2 separate regions of the Homo sapiens genome follow, and region 2 is linked to region 1. Evidence: promoter capture Hi-C in human tissues and cell types (Jung and others, 2019). All regions are on one chromosome and are shown on one strand. The core of a region is centred on a gene start or on the middle of the fragment in contact, and the rest is flanking DNA. Distances in the headings are between cores, read along the strand shown.

Region 1 (6,265 bases), core at 1-2,500:
TCTCAAGCAATTTTCAAATTATTAAATTTCACAGGAAAGGAGGTTAGGAAGAACTATGTGAAAAACAGACTTGAACTTTTGGCAATCACATGTTGTTCAGGAGACAAAACCAAATTCAACTTCCAAGAAAGAGAAGCAGCTTTGATAAAAAGCAGGTTCTCAGATGGAATTACTAGAAGGCTTTATCATAGGTCCTAGGACAAACTAGAAATGATGAAATAGTAAAGAAAAAGATATATAAAATCTTACAGAAACTGGAACTCAGTCCTAATGCAACTTCATTTCTATTTGATAAAGGCAATAGCTGTCCAATCTGGAACTTATTTCTTACAGGTAAGGGGGGCTACTGTATAGAATTCAAAAGCAGGGAAAATATGTTGTCAGAGTTAAGATAGAGATTGTATTTGGGGTAATGAGCGTTGCAGGACATGAGTAGGGCACATAGCGTGTTGGTATTGTTTTACGTGGTTTTAAGATATACTTCATCTAGGCACTTGTTACATGTTATATTTTTAATGAATGTGTTTAGTTGTATGCTTATGATTTGTGCACATTACTATAAATTATATTTTAGTAAAAGGTGCCCTTACTGGCATTTATATACAAGAAATCAACACATCTGACAAGAAGCTCTTGCTGCTAAAGAGCCTCTGTGCTCCTGGATCATGCCAGAGGGAGCACAGAAGCTGCACACCGTTCAAGCCCATTTTTGAAAAGTTGTTGTAGCAGCCATAGCAGCAAATTCCCAAAATATCTTGAAGAAATTGAAAACAAGATATTTTTTGAATGAGCGTAAACTCTTGGGAATGAATTTTAATTTGAGATTAAAATTGCTGTTGTCTTTACTTACCTAACATTCATTTCCTCTGAGAGCCAACTCCTTCCTTTCAATAAATTCTTATTTTCTATCATAATATTGCTTTGTACCGCACAAAATACAATTATAATTTTTAATAGTCAAAGAAATTTTAAGTTATCAAACATTAGTTTCTTTCGTAACCAAAATACTGTTAGAGAAGTAGCTTCAACTTTTTAAAATTCTTACAAACACCAGTTTATTCTGTTGTGATGAGCTGATTTTTGAAACAATTTATGCTTCATTTGTTCCTCTAGCTATATTTAACTTAAAGGCTTGACATTTTGAGTTACTGGGGCGGTTACACACTTACACGTTTTAGTCGTTGGGCTTTTTTTTTGTTTTGTTTTGAATCATTCTTGGGGTTGAAAACGTAGAGACTGTGGTTTAGATCACTCATAGAAACTGGAGGCAAAATGCATGACAGTAACAATGTGGAGAAAGACATTACACCATCTGAATTGCCTGCAAACCCAGGTAAGAAGCTGGGCTCTACAGAGTAAGTGTGAGGACTGGAATGGGAAGGTAGTGGTAGTGATGGGCTCACACAGGAAAGGTGCTGATCTAGTAAAAAGTTTTCAAGGATAAGAGATGGAATGTGGGAGTCCATAAATTGGCTTATAATTTGTGTAAAACATGCATATATTTATATTCCCAGTTCTAACAACTAAGGAGAGGGAACAATGAGAGAAAGATGTAAGACAATGAGATAAGGTTAAGTTTAGGATTGAAAATAACAGTTAATTTCACTAAAAAAAAATCTATACAAACTCTAAAGTGTTACTCAGATACAAGATACCATCATTATTACATAGGTAGAAAACCTATCATGGAAGCTCTTAAGAGAGAAAAGGTAGAAAATAGTATGTAAAGGACATTTACAAATCAAAAAAGTAACAAAGGTTGAGTAGAAACTTAGTAGGGCATTCTAATGGAATTATGTTACATTGGATGCACTGGAAATATATATATATATAGCTTTATATGATGCTTTAGTAAGTGAAAAAAATGACTTTTGCCACAGTTAGGGAATATCAAGGTTTTATAACTTAGGACTTAAAAGTTTGGAGTTTTCTCCTCCCAACTTAAAAGGTAATCAATTTGGAGAAAAGGTAATTCAGAGGCAGAAAAAGATGAACTCTAAATGTTGTTAAATGACTTCATTTATTTCTTCATTCATTGGGTATTTTGAGCATTTTATACCAAATGCTTTAAACTGTTTGTCGGATAGTTCCAACATCTCTGTCATGTCCTCCTTGGCTTGTGTTTTCTTTCCCCATGGAAGTTGACATTTTCGTGGTTCTTCATATACTGTGTAATTTTGGATTGTAATTTGAACATTTTGAACAAATATTTAGTTAGACTGGATCTTATTTAAATTTTGGAGTATATTGATACTATTGTTTTAGCAAGCAATCACCCTGGTGAGATGAAGACAATCTGTGGGATCTGGTTCCAATGTCAGTTCCATTCTGAAAGCCTTTGTAGTGCTATTCAGACATGTGCATCAACCAGGGGTGAAATTGGGAACTGTGCAATGCTCTACTCATTAGTTCAGGTCTTAGCATCTTTAGTGTGCCAATTAGAACCATATCTAGGCATGCATAAGTTGAGGGGCAGGTGAATCCAGGAGTTTATGAATAATGTTCATGGGTCTCTTTCTAAAGTTTCTTCCTCTTCACCATCTGACCCGTACTTTCAGGTTCCCAGGGGCTTCTCCTTTCCATCCTCCAGCTAGAAATGCGGGCCTCCTTTTATTCTGATGAACCATATACTTCTGCAATTATAGCTGCATCTTTAAGCTCATGTGGCAGACGGACAGTGAGAAAGAAGAAAAAAAAAGCAAGAGGTTTGGCCCCACTCTCATGGAGCTACAGCTCAACTGAATGGAAAGGATTGACTTTAGATTTCTTTTCTTTTTTTGAGGTGGAGTCTCACTCTGTCCCCCAGGCTGGAGTGCAGTGGCGCGATCTCGGCTCACTGCAAGCCCCGCCTCCTGGGTTCACGCCATTCTGCCTCAGCCTCCTGAGTAGCTGGGACTACAGGCGCCCGCCACCACGCCCGGCTACTTTTTTGTATTTTTAGTAGAGACGGGGTTTCACCGTGTTAGCCAGGATGGTCTCGATCTCCTGACTTTGTGATCCGCCCGCCTCGGCCTCCCAAACTGCTGGGATTACAGGCGTGAGCCACCGCGCCCGGCCGAGGATTAACCTTTCTCAAGGTTTTGGCTATTGCATGTTGCTGTAGTTTCCCCTACCATCATCAGATTGCCTGAGGTTTGAGGCACATGAGAATGTAGACAAGAGGGGGAGAAAAAATAAACGTGGTATTTTCACACTCTATTTGAGATAGGAGTTTGCTTTTCTGTTCCTCAGACCATACCTCTAGTGCTTCTCCTGGAGCCCTCTCTTTATGCTGACAGAGGCTCAATTCCATGTTTCTGGCTGTATTAAGTTCGGGGCAGTGATACTAGAGGAGGGAAATTTAAATTCACCACTGGTTTGATGGCTCTTTAAATTTGGATATTCTTGTAAGATCTGCTGCTAGTATATCCTTTTTCCTTTTGCTCTTTTTTGTTTTGTTTAAAGACCATATTTTTAGAGCCATTTTGGGATCACAGCAAAATTGTGAGAAAGGTAGTTTTTTTTTTCATTTTCTCCTTGTTGCCACACATATATAGACTCTGTCTTAGTCTGTTTTGTGCTGCTATTACAGAATACCCAAGACTGGGTAATTTATAATGAACAAAATCTATTGGCTCATAGTTCTGGAGGCTGGAAAGTTCAAGACTGAGAAACACATCTTGCTCCATCATCCCATGGCAAAATTTGGAAGGGCAAGAGAGCACATGCATAAGAAAGAGAGAGAGCAAGAGGCACCAAACTTGCTTTTATAACAAATCCACTTTCGTGATAGTAAACCCACTCCCATTATAAGGACATTATGACCTGATTACCTCTTAAAGGACCTGCCTCTCAACACTATTGCATTGGGGATTAAGTATCTAACACATGAACTTTGGAGACACATTCAAACCATAGCAGTCTCTAACATCAACATTCTTCACCAGCAGTACATTTATTACAATTAATAACCTACATTGGCATATTGTAGCACTCAAAATTCATAATCTGATGGACTTCCCTTTGTCAGTGACCTGACCTTTCTCCCTGGCTGCCCTTAATATTTTTTCTTCCATTTCGACCTTGGAGTATGTGTCTTGGGGTTGATCTACTCATGAAGTATCTTATTGGGGTTCTCTGGATTTCCTGAATTTGAATATTGGCCTGTCTTGCTAGGTTGGGGAAGTTCTCCTGGATTATATCCTGAAGTGTGTTTTCCAACTTGGTTCCATCCTCCCTGTCTCTTTCAGGTACTCCAGTCAGTGGTAGGTTCGGTCTTTTTACATAGTCCCATAGTTCTTGGAAGTTTTGTTCATTTCTTTTCATTCTTTTTTCTCTAATCTTGTCTGTCTGCCTTATTTCAGCAAGAGAGTCTTCAAGCTCTGATATTTTCTCTTCTGCTTGGTCAATTCAGCTATTGATACTTGTGTTTGCAACATGATGTTCTCGTGCTGTGTTTTTCAGCTCCATCAGGTCATTTATGTTCCTCTCTGAACTGGTTATTCTGGTTAACAGCTCCTGTAATCTTTTATCATGCTTCTTAGCTTCTTTGCATTGGGTTAGAACATAATGCTTTAGCTCAGCGAAATTCGTTATTACCAACTTTCTGAAGCCTACTTCTGTCAGTTTATCCATCTCAGCTTCAGCCTTGTTCTGTGCCCTCACAGGAGAACTGTTGCGATCATTTGGAGGAGAAGAGGCACTCTGGCTTTTGGAATTTTCACCGTTTTTTCATTGTTTTTTCCTCATCTTCGTGGATTTATCCACCTTTGATCTTTGAGACTGATGACCTTTGAATGGGGTTTTTGTGGAGTCTTTTTTGTAGATGTTGTTGTTGTTACTTTCTGTTTGTTTGTTTATCTTCTAACAGTCAGCCTTTCTGAGGCAAGTCTGCTGCAGTTTGCTGGGGATCCACTCCAGACCCTGTTCACGTGGGTATCACCAGTGGAGGCTGCAGAACAGCAGATTGCTGCCTGCTTCTTCCTTCAGAAGTTTTGCCCCAGAGGGGCACTGGCCTGATGCCAGCCGGAACTCTTCTGTATGAGGTGTCTGGTGACCCTTGTTGGGAAGTCTCACCCAGTCAGGAGGCATGGGATCAAGGACCCGCTTATGTAGAGAATCTGACATTCCCTTAGCAGAGCTGGTGTGCTGTGCTGGGGGAATCCCACTCATCGGGTTCATCTGGTCTCTTCAGAGCCAGCAGGCAGAAAAGATAAGTCTGCTGAACCTGAAACTGCCTCTCCCCTCAGGTTCTCTGACTCAGCGAGATGAGAGTTCTGTCTGTAAGCCCCTGACCAGAGCTGCTGGAATTCTTGCAGGGATGACCTGCCTGGTGAGGAGGGATGGCTCAGGGTCCCACCTAAAGAGGCAGTCTGGCCACAACCTGCCACAGCCAGTTTGCTGCACTGTGGGAAATCTGGCCCAGTCCAAACCTCTCAGGCTCCTTTGCACTGTCAGGGGCAAACCGCCAACTAATGGTGGTCACCCCTCCCCCCAGGAACTTAGTCATTCCAGGCACACTCCAGACTACTCTGCTGGCAGCAGGGATCTCAAGCCAGTGGGTCTTAGCTTGCAGGGATCCATGGGAGTAGAACCTACTGATTGAGACTGCTGGGCTCTCCTCCTTGGCTTCAGCCCCCTTTCCATGGGACTGGATGGTTCTCGTGCCTCACTGGAGTTCCAGGCACCACTGGAGTATGTAAAAACTCCTGCAGCTCAGTGCCTGCCTAAACAGCCACCAATGGGAGTGGCTGTCATTGGTTTGCCCAGGTTTGTGCTTGAGACCCAGGGCCCTGGTGGTGTAGGCTCATGAGGGAATCTTCTGATCTGCAGATTGCAAAAATCTGTGGGAGAAGCATAGTACACCTGGTGGGTAGGACAGACCCTCGCCACTTCCCTTACCTCAGGGAGGCAAGTCTCCCCACCCTGTGCAGCTCCTGGGTGAAATGACACCCCACCTGCTTTCTTCCTGCTTCCTGTGGGTTGCACCAGCTGCCCAATGAGATGAACTTGGTACCTCAGATGGAGATGCAGAATTCACCTGCCTTCCGCATTCATCTCACTGGGAGCTTCAGACCAGAGCTGTTTCTGTTTGGCCATTTTGGCCCCTCCCTTCAAGTATGTTTTCTTTTGTAAGAAACTGCCAAAGTGGCTGTAGCATTTCGCTTTCTTACCAGTAATGCATGAGACTTCTGGTTGCTCCACATCCTTGCTAGTATTTGATATTGTTAATGTTTTAATGTAACACTTAAGTAATATGTAATGATATCTCATTATTTTAACTTGC
Region 2 (6,790 bases), core at 1,704-4,203, 220 kb before region 1:
AAGCATTTTTTAATTTTGTTGTTGTTGTTCTCATTCCTTCTTGCTAATTTTAAGTGCATTTTCTAATAAAGTCTGACTGCCTGGTGGGCAGATCACGAGGTCGGGAGATCGAGACCATCCTGGCTAACACGGTGAAACCCCGTCTCTACTAAAAATACAAAAAAAAAAAAATTAGCCGGGCGTGGTGGTGGGTGCCTGTAGTCTCACCTACTTGGGAGGCTGAGGCAGGAGAATGGCGTGAACCTGGGAGGCGGAGCTTGCAGTGAGCCGAGATCACGGCACTGCACTCCAGCCTGGGCGACAGAGCGAGACTCCGTCTCAAAAAAAAAAAAAAAAAAAAAAGTCTGACTGCCTGGATCCAGATATTCCCCACTCCACCATTCAACTGGCTGAATGACCTTGGCCTATGACTTAAGCCTTCTGAGTCTCTGCTTTTCTCACGAATAAAATAAAGATAATAATAGGACCTATGTTCTAGAATTCTTATGAGATAAGTGAGATAATCCTGGTAACATAAAGGGCTTAACATCTTACATGTCATTGTGGAAGCTTAACAAATGGTAGCTATTACTGATATGAATTGGGTTTGGTTTCAGCGTTCCTCTGCTTTTATTATAAATTTCCTTAGATCCTCTTCTAGAAGGAGAGCATGTAGGAGGTACAAGTTTGTTTTCAACAAGCAATTCTCTCGGGAACTAAGAGTGAGAACTGAGTCACTTCTGCCATAAGGGCAGCAAGCCTTTCATGAGGGATGTACCCCCATGGTCCAAACATTGCCCACCAGACGCCACCTCCAACACTGGAAATCAGATTTCAACATGAGACTTAGGCCAAACAAACCACATCCAAACTGGAACACCTAGGTAGTGGGAAAGGCTCATGAAATGTGCCTGTGCTATAAGAGAAAACATTATTAGAGACTAGATTGTTCTGTCCCCAAAACCCTATATGCCTCACTGTGGAACAGCGCAAGATGCACCCTAATAATATTTACTTCTCTGAACCCCAGTTTCTTGGATTATTATGTCTATCTTGATATGTTACTTTAGCTCATTAAGCCACACCGTAGTGGGGGTGGGACATGTTGTTTCTTCACATAATAGGTTGATGTACTTAGTCAAACTAAATTTTCAGTGGTGTTTGAAAATGGGGGGACTAGAACTGAGGAAGGTGGTAAAAGCTGGATATATGGATTTGATCACCCCTGGGAAACAACAACAACAACAAAAAACATCTAAACTAAAGCTGTGGAGGTAGTAAGATTACTGAAAGGAAAAGTTTCCAAAAAGAAGGAGGTATCCACATATAAAAGAATGAAGTAGGATCCTTGTCTTATACAATATATCCAAATTAACTTAAGATGGATTTTCTAAAGTTAAAATGAAGTTAAAAATTAAAGTTAAAAGCTATAAAACTATAAAACTGGTAGAAGAAAACAGAGGGGAAAAGCTTTATGACATTGCATTTGGCAATGATTCCTTGGCTATGACACCAAAAAGCACAGGCAACAAAAAAATTGATGATGAGTTGAGGGATTTGTAAAATAACATAAAAATAGATGAATTGGACAACAACAAAAGTTACAACTTCTGTGCATTGAAGGACAGGATCAACAGAGTGAAAAGGCAGCCTACAGAATGGGAGCAAGTATTTGTAAATCATCTATCTGATAAGGGGTTAATAACCAGAATATATAAAGAACTTCTGTATCTCAGCAACATGAAAACAATCTGATTAAAAAAATGGGCAAAATACTTAAATAGATATTTCTCCAAAAAAAGATGTGCAAATGGCCCACAGGCACATGAAAAGATGCTCGACATCCCAGTCACTGGGAAAATGCAACTCAAAGCCACGATGAGGTACCACTGCAATCCACTGGGATGGCTACTATTGCACACACACACACACACACACACACACACACACACAGCCAGGCACAGTGGCTTATACTTGCAATTCCAGCACTTTGGGAAGCTGAAGCGAGAGGATAACTTGAGGGCAGGTGTTCAAGACCATCCTGTGTAACATAGTGAGACCAGATCTCTGCAAAAAATTTAAAAAAATATTAGGGGGTAATCGTGGCACACACCTGTAGTCCCAGCTACCCAAGAGGCTGAGGTAGGAGGATTGTGTGAGCCCAGGAGTTCAAGGCTGTAGTGAGCTATAATTGCACCACTGCACTCCAGCCTGGGTGACAGAGCAAGACCCTGTCTCAAAAAAAAAGAAGAAAGAAAAAACCTCAACCCAAAAGGAGCAAAACAAAAAATAAATGATGGCAAGGATATAGAGAAATTAGAAATTTGTACATGGCTGGTGGGAATGTAAAATGGTGTAGCCGCTATGGAAAAAAATTAAAAATAGAATTACCATATGATCCAACAATTTCACATCTGGGTTTGTAAACAACAGAAGTAAAAGCAGTGTCTTGAAGACATTTTTGCACACCTGTGTTTATAACAGCATTATTCGCAACAGCCAAAAGGTAGAAGCAACCCAAGTGTCTATTGACAGATGAGTGGATAAAGTGTGGTATATACATACAATGGAATATGATTCAGTCTTGGAAGGAAGTTCTGACACATGCTATGACATGGATGAGCCCTGAGGCTATTATTTGTATTAGGGTTCTCCAGAGAAACAACCAGCAGGGTGTGTGTGTGTGTGTGTGGGTGTGTGTGTGTGTGTCTATCTACACAGCGAAAAAGAAGCTTAAAGAATTAGCTCATGCAGTTGTAGAGGACTGGTGAGTGAAAATCTGATTGTATTGACTGGCAGGCTGGAGACCTAGGGAAGAGTTATGGTTCAAGGCCAAAGGCAGTCTGCTGGCACAACTCCTTGTTCAGGGGAAGTCAGTCTTTGCTCTAGTAAGGTCTTCACCTAATTGAATGAGGTCCACCCACATTATGGAGGGTAATCTGCTTTACTTAGAGTCCATTGATTTAATTGTTAATCTCATCCAAAAAACACCTTCACAGAAACACCCAGAATAATGTTGGCCAAATGTATGGGTACGGTGGCTCAGCCAAGTTGACACATAAAATTAACCATCACATTATACTCAGTGAAAAAGCCAGTCAAAAGACAAATACTGTATTATTCTACTTACATGAGGTTGCTAGAGTAGTCAGATTCATAGAGACAGAAAGTAGAAGAGTGATTGTCAGGGGCTGGGGGAAGGGCAAATAGGGAGTTGTTTTACGGGTGTAAGAATTTCAGTTTTGCAAGAGGAAAAGTTCTGGAGACTGGTCGCACAACAATGCGAGTATGTCCAACATGAATGAAGTGTACATTTGAACAGGGTTAAGGTACATTTTATTATGTATATTTTCTTAAAAGTTTTTGAAAAAAAATGAGGAAGAGAGAATGACCTTTAAGAAATGTCCACATTTGAAGATGGGAAAGGAAGATGAGAGAATGATGAATCAGTGAAATAGAAGGCAGTTTACAGCTATCTGAGCCAAAGGACAAAATGATCAACACTGAAATATAGTACAGTCAAGGTGAACACTAATTAGAAAAAAGTCTCCTGGGTGTGATCATTCAAAGGGCAACTGCACTGAGTTGAGTGTTAATACATTAGTTTGAACAAAACCACTTTGCACGGTGAAGATGACTCTAGGTGATGTGGTTAAAGGAGGAAACCTGGAGGGGCGGAGAGAAACAGGAGAGGAATGGACTTGAGGGTGGAAGGAAAGGAGACCATGCAAAGGAAGACCCTGGAGATACAGATAAAGTGAGAGGGCCACTTTTGCCTCTGCCTTTGACATTTCCTCCTGCCGGGTAGCCTGACTTGGTCAAGATTCTAAAAGTTACGAGATAAGGGGCCCCATAAATCAGACTAAGCTGGGGCAGCTGCCCTAAGAATGTGCAGCTAGGGACTGGTGGCAAGAAACAGACCATGGCAGGTTTGGAGAGATCCTCAAGGAGTCCAAGCCTGAAGTAAATTGCAGTGGAAACCAAAATGTCAAAGACAAAGTACAAAGCTAGGCTGAAGGCCAAGTGGACAAATGCCAATGCACAGTCACGGGCTGCATAACGATATTTCAGCCAACAACAGACTGCATACAGGAAGGTGGTTCCATAGATTATAACAGAGCTGAGCAATTTCTGTGACCTAGTGGCATAGTAACTATCATAACATGGTAGCACAACGCATGACTCACATGTTTGTGGTGGTCCTTGTATAAGCAAACCTGAGTTGCCAGTGTATAAGAGTATAGCTTGGAGAGTTACATACGGTACACAATACTTGATAATGATCATAAATGACTGTTACTGGTTTATGTGTTTACAATACTTTTATTATTATTTTAGAGTGTACTCTTTCTAGTTTTGTTTTGTTTTTGAGACAGAGTCTTGCTCTGTTGCCCAGGCTGGACTGCAGCAGCATAATCATAGCTCACTAAAGTGTTGAACTGGGCTCACGCCATCCTCTCACTTCAGTCCCCCAAGTAGCTGGACAACAGATGCACACTATCACACCCAACTAATTTTTTTTATCTTTACTTTTTGTAGAGACAGGTTCTTGCTCTGTTGTCTAAACTGATCTTGAACTCCTGGCTATATGTGATCCTTCTACCTTGTCCTCCCAAAGTACGGGGATTACAGGTGTGAGCCACCATGCCCGGCCTCTGCTTTCCAAAAACGAAGCTGACTGAAAAGCAGATTCAGCCAAGATCCTTCAGGAAATATCCCAGAAGGAAGCATTGTTATCATAAGACGCGGCAGCTTCATACGTGTTACTGCCCCTGAAGACCTTCCAGTGGGACAACACGTGGAAGACAGTGATATTGATGATCCTGACCCTGTTTAGGCCTGAGCTAATGTGTGTGTTTGTGTCTTAATTTTTAACAGAAAAGTTTAAAAACTAAAAAAAATTTTTTTTAAATAGAAAAAAGCTTATAAAGAAAAGCTTTACAGTTGTGTTTTAAACTAAGCGTTATTACAAGAGTCAAAAAGTTTAAAAAATTAAAAGGTTTATAAAGTGAAAGAGATACAGAAACCTAAGGTTAATTTACTGAAGAAAGAACAATATTTTAACAAATTTAGTGTAGCCTAAGTGTCCACTGTTTATAAAGTCCACAACAGTGTGCAGTAATGTCCTAGGCTTTCACCTGCATGCAACACACACTCCCTGACTCACCCAGAGCAACTTCCAGTCCTGCAAGCTCCATTCATAGTAAGTGCCTGTGTGTGGAAAAACCACCTCCAATGTGTTTTTCTTCTGCTCTCACACCACAGCAACCATCAACATGGAAGACTTCTATGACCACATACAGGGGAATTTCTCCCCACACACCAAGCAAGCAAGCAGTTCTGGAGGGGACACCAGCTAGGTGTCCTCCAGTTCAATTGTGACACCGCCTACCTGGAGATAGCATCAGATCCCACAGGTTGTAGGCTCAGTCTCCCAAGACTGTCCCCTCCTTCCCAAGATAGCAAGTCCAGGTCTCTAGAACATCTGACCCACCAGCTTCAAGTTGGGGTTCCTATGACCTCTTCTTTGTGTTTGATTAATTTGCTAGAGTGCTCACACAACTCAGGGAAACACTTATGTTTACTGGTTTATTACAAAGGGTATTTTACATGATACAAATAAACAGCCAGTTGAAGAGATACATAGGGTGAGTCTGGAGGGGTCCCTAACCCAGGAGCTTCTGTGGAGTTGGGGTGTGCCACCCTCCTGGCATAGGGAAGAGTTTTGTCAGCCTCCACGTGTTCAGCTTTCCAGAAGCTCCCTGAGCCCTGTCCTCTTGAGCCTTCAATGGAGACATCATTGGGTAGACATGATTGACAACCATGTACAAATACAACTGGACCAGAAGGGATGATCTAACACTAGTTGTATGAGATAGGATAACCCACCAAGGCTTATCCAGATTCTTCTTGGCCTCTCTGTGCAGCATTCTCACCTCCTAAGGATGGGCAGGACCCTCTCTGGAATGAGGATCTTATAATGTGCAGAGTCCTGCCTTGGGCAGGTGAAAGGAGGGCAGGAGAAAGTCAGAGACAGAGAGTCTGTTTTCTGAGCCTAAAGTGTCCCAGCACTGTAACAAGACTATAATGAGGGCCATAGAAGTTATGAGCCAGGAACCCTGGGCAAAGACATGTAAATACTATAATGCTATAGTGCCCTTTAGAGGCATACCACTTTTATCTTTCAAACCATATGTTTACTGTACCTTTTCTTTGTTGAGACATTTGGAGACACAGATACCATCATGTTGAAGTTGCCCACAGTATTCAGTATAGTCATGTGCTGCACAGGTCTGTAGCTTAGGAAATGTAAACTAAAGAAAAATGACCAAGGTGAGTCCTGATCATTTTAGGTTTATTTGCTGAGGTTGAGGACATGCCCAGGAAAGAACGTAGATCCACAGGAAACATTGTGTTTCATGCTTTTTCCAAAGAGGGTCTTGGGATCCCAATATTTAAAGGGAAAAGGCCAGGTATTGAAAGAAGAAGATACATTTTTAAAAGGGTATGGGTAGATACGAGGCAAGCAGTTGCATTCTTTTTGAGTCTTTGATTAGCCTTCACATGTAAGAGGGTAGGGGAACAGTCACTTAAACATTCATCTAGTTCAATGAATCTGCATTTTTACATAAGATAAACAGGCAGGGGGAGCAATCAGATATGCATTTGTCTCAGGTGAGAAGAGGGATGACTTATGTGTCTTGTTCCATGCCTGTGAAGATAAGCCATCAATTTACATGGTCAGGGTGAAATTCAACGTAACTATCTTAGGGTAAATATCTTGGGGGCCCATAAAGAATTTCCTTAGTTT

What was found. Contacts are between HindIII fragments. The study calls those that stand out against the background at their distance.
Region 2: a fragment that was not itself captured here is called in contact with the fragment with the promoter of CLEC2D in region 1 in 1 of the 25 tissues and cell types used here (hippocampus).

Annotation. Positions count from the first base shown.
Region 1 is chr12:9,668,463-9,674,727 of GRCh38, forward strand. CLEC2D (C-type lectin domain family 2 member D) reads left to right here and starts at 1,251. Exons shown (of 5, transcript NM_013269.6): 1 at 1,251-1,333. The coding sequence starts at 1,273. RefSeq lists an enhancer at 4,870-5,129. The HindIII fragment of the contact is 24,993 bases long and covers 1-6,265 here.
Region 2 is chr12:9,451,618-9,458,407 of GRCh38, forward strand. It overlaps the pseudogene OVOS1P. Among named protein-coding and RNA genes, the nearest start is that of LINC02367, 88 kb to the left of the region's middle. The HindIII fragment of the contact is 3,909 bases long and covers 1,000-4,908 here.